2 separate regions of the Homo sapiens genome follow, and region 1 is linked to region 2. Evidence: promoter capture Hi-C in 16 types of primary human blood cells and fetal thymus (Javierre and others, 2016). All regions are on one chromosome and are shown on one strand. The core of a region is centred on a gene start or on the middle of the fragment in contact, and the rest is flanking DNA. Distances in the headings are between cores, read along the strand shown.

Region 1 (3,046 bases), core at 154-2,653, 70 kb before region 2:
AGCCCGGGCTCGCAGGGCAGGGCGCACCCAACCCGAGTGATCCTCCGAACCCAAAAGCCCAGCCACCAGCCCCGGGCCGCCAGCATATGCGCCCAGAGTCTCGGGCGGCGGCGGATATTGCGCCCCGGAGGCCTCGCTGGGCGCCAGAGCGCAGGTCTGGGGCGCGCCACCGGGCTCCGGGCCCGAGAAGTTGGTGAGGAGGAGATCCAGGTCCCAGGTGGCGTCCGCGCCCCTCTCATCGTCCTCTTCCTCCCCGGGCTGGTCCTCAGACTTCACGTGGAGGGGCGGCTCCGTGGGGTCAGGAGGACCCGGGCCCATGTCCTGCGCCTCTTCGGAGCGCCACCACTGCGGGAGGGAGCAGGCAGCTCGAGGTTCGGTGGACACTGGGGTGCCCTGCCCAGGGACATCGCGGGCTGGACACTCTGACGCAGAGGCTTTGGAAAGGGGTCTTGTTTGCCTGTCTGTCTGTCCCACTTCCCCAACACTGCCCCTCTAACCGCCCCTCTCCCCGCTCCCCCCCCAGCTCCAGGGACAGAAACCGATCAGGTCTGGCTGGAGACAGGAGATAAGACTTCCACTATCTGGAACCACACTCGGGGATGGGGGAAGGGGTAGCAGAGCTGCTGGAGATGGAAAACTGGCAGGGGACGGGGGAGAGGATGCCAGCCTTGACTTAGTTTTCCCCCAGAACATCCCTCTCCTTCCCTGTCTCCCAAAACAAGATTAATTCCGAAATTTTGGATGTCCCCCAGACACACTCATCATTTCCCGCTGATATCTGGAAGATTGTCTGTGAGCCTAGATCTCGTTCCTTTTTTTTTTTTTTTTTCTTGAGATAGGGTCTTACTCTTTTGCCCAGGCTGGAGTGCAGTGGTGCAGCTCACTGTATCCTTAATCTCCTGGGCTCTAATGATCCTCCTGCATCAGCCTACGGAGTACCTGGGACTACAGGCACACGCCCCCATGCCTGGCCTAATGTTTTTGGTATTTTTTGTAGAGATAGGGTTTCACCATGTTGCCCAGGCTACCTTCGTTTTCTATTACCGAAATAGATCACACTTAGAACCTCAAACCCCTAGACCACCCTCCTCACCCCCTGCCAGACTAAGCTGAGATCTCCTCTCCTGGACTGAGCGTACCTCAGTCCTGGTTAAGTCTCTTGATTTCAGGTCAAGATGCAGGTCTGGACCCCAAGATCTGTGACTGTGGCCCTGGATTCCAGCCAGCCCACCTAGACCCCACCTTCTAGGCCCCACCTTGAGGAAGTCATCCTGTGTGTCCGGGAAGGGGCCCAGGGCGGTCAGTGTGCTGATGGAGGGCAAGGCGGTCTCGGCTGTGGCCATGGCTGGCTGGTGCCCACCCTGGGCCTCAAGCCTCCTCTTCCTCGGCTGCCTCGTGAACTCTGAGGCTGTGATAGCCCCTTCGAGGGCTCCTCTCTGTCCTTAGCTGATTGGCTGCAGCCTCTGATAAGGCAAAGCAAGGCAAGGCGGCGGGGGGGCACTGTTTCTGGGGCACAAACTTCACGTTGGCCTGTCTGGGGCTGGGGTTAAAGACTAACCCTGTGTCCAAAGCCAAGTCAAATATCAAGGGTTGGGGGGTTCAGGGTTTGAGGGTCCAGGTGCTGGGTAAAAACAGACATTGGGTCTCCAAAGAAGGAGAGACTTGGGGGTCTTCCCTCAGTTAACTTTCCTGGAAAAGGCAGAAAGGGTATTCTGGGAAGAAGCTGTGGGACCCCCTGTCCCCCTGATTGAGGCTCCACAGCCCTCCCCCTCCCCAGTAAACAGCAACAACCGTGCTGATGGCGGGACTTGGCACGAGCTCCCCGCCAAGCATTATCAGACACCCCAGACGTTGGAGGCTGCTATCAGGTGGGGGCCCAGGCCAGCTAGAGCTCTGTCCTCCGGTGAAGGGGAGGGCTGGGAGTTGGGTCTTCAAATTAGCCTGGCGTTCAATTTGCCTGGGTTGGGACCTCCCAGGGTCTCAGCCCTGCAGCAGGAGGAAGCCCCTGACAACTGGCCCACCATTGTCTACTGGGGACCCTTGGGTGGCACTGCATGGGACTGCATGGAGGCTGGTTCAGTGCCAGCTGCTTTAGTGCGATGGGGGCAGCCAAGGGAAAAGTGACCCTCTCTCCTCCTGGGTGGGATAGGACCGTTGGATCAAGCCACAGGCAGTACCTGACCTGCAGGAGACCAGTGCCCTGGCTCTGGGCCTGGCTGCTCCTTGATTCTGCCCAACATGAGGAGAGGATCTGAGTTTCTACAACAGGAACCTCCACTCTGGTGCCCTGGGAGCCTGGGAAGGGGACATGGATACGTATTACAGACACATAACTCATAGTCACTCATTGGAAGACTGAGGCAGGAGGATCACTTGACACCAGGATTTCAAGACCAGCCTGGGCAACATAAAACCTATCTCTCCAACAAAAAGCTGTGAGTGGTGGTGCATGCCCATAGTCCCAGCTACTCAGGAGGCTGAGGTGGGAGGATTGCCTGAGCCCAGGAGGTCGGGACTGCACTGAACTATAATCACACCACTGCAGTCCAGCCTGGGGCACAGAAAGCAAGACTCTGTCGCTGGAAAAAAAAAAAAGTTGGGTGGCCATCTTTATTCCTGGCAGATCAACCTGGGTGACACAAACAAAAACAAGGCCAGGTGCGGTGGTTCACACCTGTAACCCCAGCACTTTGGGAAGCCAAGGTGGGGAGATCACTTGAGGTCAGGAGTTCGAGACCAGACTGGCCAACAGGATGAAGCCCTCTCTCTGCTAAAAATACAAAAATTAGCTGGGCATTGTGGCACATGCTTGTAATCCCAGCTATTTGGGAGGCTGAGCTGGAGAACTGGTTGAAACTTGGAGGCATGGGGCCAGGCGCAGTAGCTCACGCTAGTAATCCCAGCACTTTGGGAGGCCGAGGCAGGCAGATCACCTGAGGCCAGGAGTTCGAGACAAACCTGGCCAACACAGTGAAACCCTGTCTACTAAAAATATAAAAATAGGCCGGGGATGGTGGCATACACCTCTAATCCCAGGTACCCGGGA
Region 2 (3,029 bases), core at 401-2,900:
GGTCTGGCCCGACGCGGTGGCTCACGCCTGTAATCCTAGCACTTTGGGAGGCCGAGGCAGATGGATCACCTGAGGTCAGGAGTTTGAGACCAGCCTGGCCAATATGGCGAAACCCCATCTCTACTAAAAATACAAAAAATGAGCCGGGTGTGGTGGTGGGCGCTTGTAATCCCAGCTACTCGGGAGGCTGAAGCAGGAGAATCTCTTGATCCTGGGAGGCAGAGGTTGCAGTGAGCTGAGATTGCACTCCAGCCTGGGCAACAAGAGCAAAACTCTGCCTCAAAACAACAACAACAACAACAACAAAAAGATGCCCCTGGTCCTTCAGACCTGCCTCTGTATCTGACCTCTGCCCTCTTGGTTCCAGGACCCATCACCTTCCTGCCCTCACCTTTTCCCCAGCCACACTGGCTTCCTGGCTGTTCTTTAAGGCATATCGTATCTCAGGGCATTTGCCCCAGCTGTTCCCTTTACCAGAAACTTTCTACCCAAGAGATCGCCCCATAGCTAAGTCTGGTTATTCAGGTCTTTGCTTAAACATCACCTCCTCAGAGAGGCCTGAGGCTTCCCAAACCAAAGCTGCCCTCAGGCACACACTCTTCACTCTTTTACCTTCCTACTAGTCGGCTGTCACCATTGGTATTATCTTGCCTGTCAGCTGTCGCCATCTGATATTAAGGGCCCTTTTGGGGCCTGCCTCGGCCTCCCAAATAACTGGGATTACAGGCACGAGCCACCGCCCCCGGCCTGGGACAGGGTCTTGCACACGGTATGCGCTCAGTAAAGACTTGGTGGTGATGGCCGGACGTGATGGCTCACACCTGTAATCCCGGCACTTTGGGAGGCTGAGGCAGGTGGATCACTTGAAGTAAGGAGTTTGAGACCAGCCTGGCCAACATGGTGGAACCCCGTCTCTACTAAAACTACAAAAATTTGCCGGGCGTGGTGGTGCACGCCTGTAATCCCAGCTACACCGGAGGCTAAGGCGGGAGAATCGCTTGAACCGGGGAGGCGGAGGTTGCAGTGAGCCAAGATCTTGCGACTGCACTCCAGCCTGGGCAACAGAGCGAGACTCTTGTCTCCAAAAAACAAACAAACAAACAAACAAAACTTGCTGATGAATGACTAAATGGACGTTATTCTGAGTTTGTTTTGCGGCCAGGTGAGCGTATACATAAATCTACAACATGCAGATGCTGCGACGTGACCCCGAAGGGGTAGGCACGGTTTGGGGCCCAGTTCGCCCACGGGGCACAGAGGGCAGCCCCGCGTCTGCCTGCACGCACGCACCTCTCCCGACGCTTCTGCTCTTCGGCCAGCTGCTTCACCCGCAGCGACTCCTGCATGGTCGCCAGGCTCGGGTACCATTCGCGTTCTTCGGCCTCCAGCTCCCGCAGCTGCTCCGGCGACGGCCATAACGAACCGGGGACCACCCCGGAGGCGGCGCCGTAACGCGCGAACTGCTTAGCCGCGTAGCGCGGTCCCAGCTGCCACCGCGGGGTCAGGAGGTCCTCGGGGTCTGGCCACCGGGGTCCCGGCCTGCGGCGCGGGGGCGGCCGCGCCCGGTAGCCACGGGAACCCGGGGCCAGGGTCGCCGCCACACCTAGTAGGCTGCGTGCCTGTCGCACGGACGCCGCCATCTTGGCTGTGCGGGGTCCTCACAGGCCCGCCGGGCTGTCCATGCCCGGTGCCTGAGCGCGAGGCCCGGTGTGGGCCAGGGCAGGGCGAGGGGTGTCCCTGCTGCCTCAGTTCGGGGGAGGGCGGCGAAGGGGATAGTATGGGTTTTATACGTTTCCAAGTATAACTTTAAATTTTAGTTAAGCAGTTACTGATTAAAGTCATTTTTAATTTTCACTTTTTTTCTTCTCCTTTCTGCACACTGACACTTAAAAATACATATTTTTGTCGGGCGCGGTGGCTCACGCCTGTAATCTCAGCACTTTGGGAGGCCGAGGCGGGCGGATCACCTGAGGTCGCGAGTTCGAGACCAGTCTTTTTTTTTTTTTTTTTTCGAGACAGAGTCTCGCTCTGTCGCCCAGGCTGGAGGGTAACGGCGTGATCTCGGGTCACTGTAACCTCCGCCTTCCGGGAGGAGAGGAGAAACCCCGTCTCTACTAAAAATACAAAATTAGCCGGGCATGGTGGCGCATGCCTGTAGTCCCAGCTCCGCGGGAGGCTGAGGCAGGAGAATCGCTTGAACCCGGGAGGCGGAGGTTGGGGTGGGCCGAGATCGTGCCATTGCATTCCAGCCTGGGTAACAAGAGCGAAACTCCGTCTAAAAAATTAATAAATAAAAATAAATACATACATGCATACACACACACACACATATACATATATATATACGCTCACCTGGCTACAAATATATATTTGTGTATTTTTTTCTAAGTGTTCAGTGTTCTTTGGGTAAAAATTGTATTTTTGTTTTTTGCATATCAGAAACCATACTGTTTTATTCATCCATGTGTCTTCTGTGCACACAGTAGCCCTCCAATGAATAATCTGAAATCATGTTGAATGAACACATTGAAAAATCAAAAATAAGAGGCTGTGGCAGGGCCACTGATATGGTTTGGCTCTGTGTCCCCAACCAAATCTCATCCTGAATTATAATCCCCATGTGTCCAGGGAGGGACCTGTAATCCCCACATGTCGGGGAAGGGAGGTGGTTGGATCACGGGGGTGGTTTCCCCCATGCTATTCTTTTTTTTTTTTTTTTGCCTTCAAAAAGTTTATTTTATTTTATTTTATTATTATTATACTTTAAGTTTTAGGGTACTTGTGCACAACGTGCAGGTTTGTTACATATGTATACATGTGCCATGTTGGTGTGCTGCACCCATTAACTCGTCATTTAGCATTAGGTATATCTCCTAATGCTATCCCTCCCCCCTCCCCCCACCCCACAACAGTCCCCGGTGTGTGATGTTCCCTTTCCTGTGTCCATGTGGTCTCATTGTTCACTTCCCACCTATGAGTGAGAACATGCGGTGTTTGGTTTTTTGTCCTTGCGATAGTTTGCTGAGAAT

The links. The method cuts DNA at HindIII sites, captures the fragments that hold promoters and counts their contacts. A CHiCAGO score of 5 or more calls a contact.
Region 1: the fragment with the promoter of KLF1 here is called in contact with the fragment with the promoter of GADD45GIP1 in region 2 in 1 of 17 cell types (erythroblasts); the score reaches 5.9 in erythroblasts.

Annotation. Positions count from the first base shown.
Region 1 is chr19:12,885,798-12,888,843 of GRCh38, forward strand. It overlaps KLF1 (KLF transcription factor 1), which reads right to left and starts at 1,404. Exons shown (of 3, transcript NM_006563.5): 1 at 1,257-1,404; 2 at 1-345. The coding sequence starts at 1,343. RefSeq lists a silencer at 1-86, a cis regulatory region at 294-2,134, enhancers at 434-695, 1,259-1,599, 1,708-2,046 and a promoter at 1,338-2,356. The HindIII fragment of the contact is 12,769 bases long and covers 1-3,046 here.
Region 2 is chr19:12,955,573-12,958,601 of GRCh38, forward strand. GADD45GIP1 (GADD45G interacting protein 1) reads right to left here and starts at 1,651. Exons shown (of 2, transcript NM_052850.4): 1 at 1,291-1,651. The coding sequence starts at 1,640. RefSeq lists enhancers at 978-1,027, 1,127-1,999 and a silencer at 1,428-1,597. The HindIII fragment of the contact is 49,128 bases long and covers 1-3,029 here.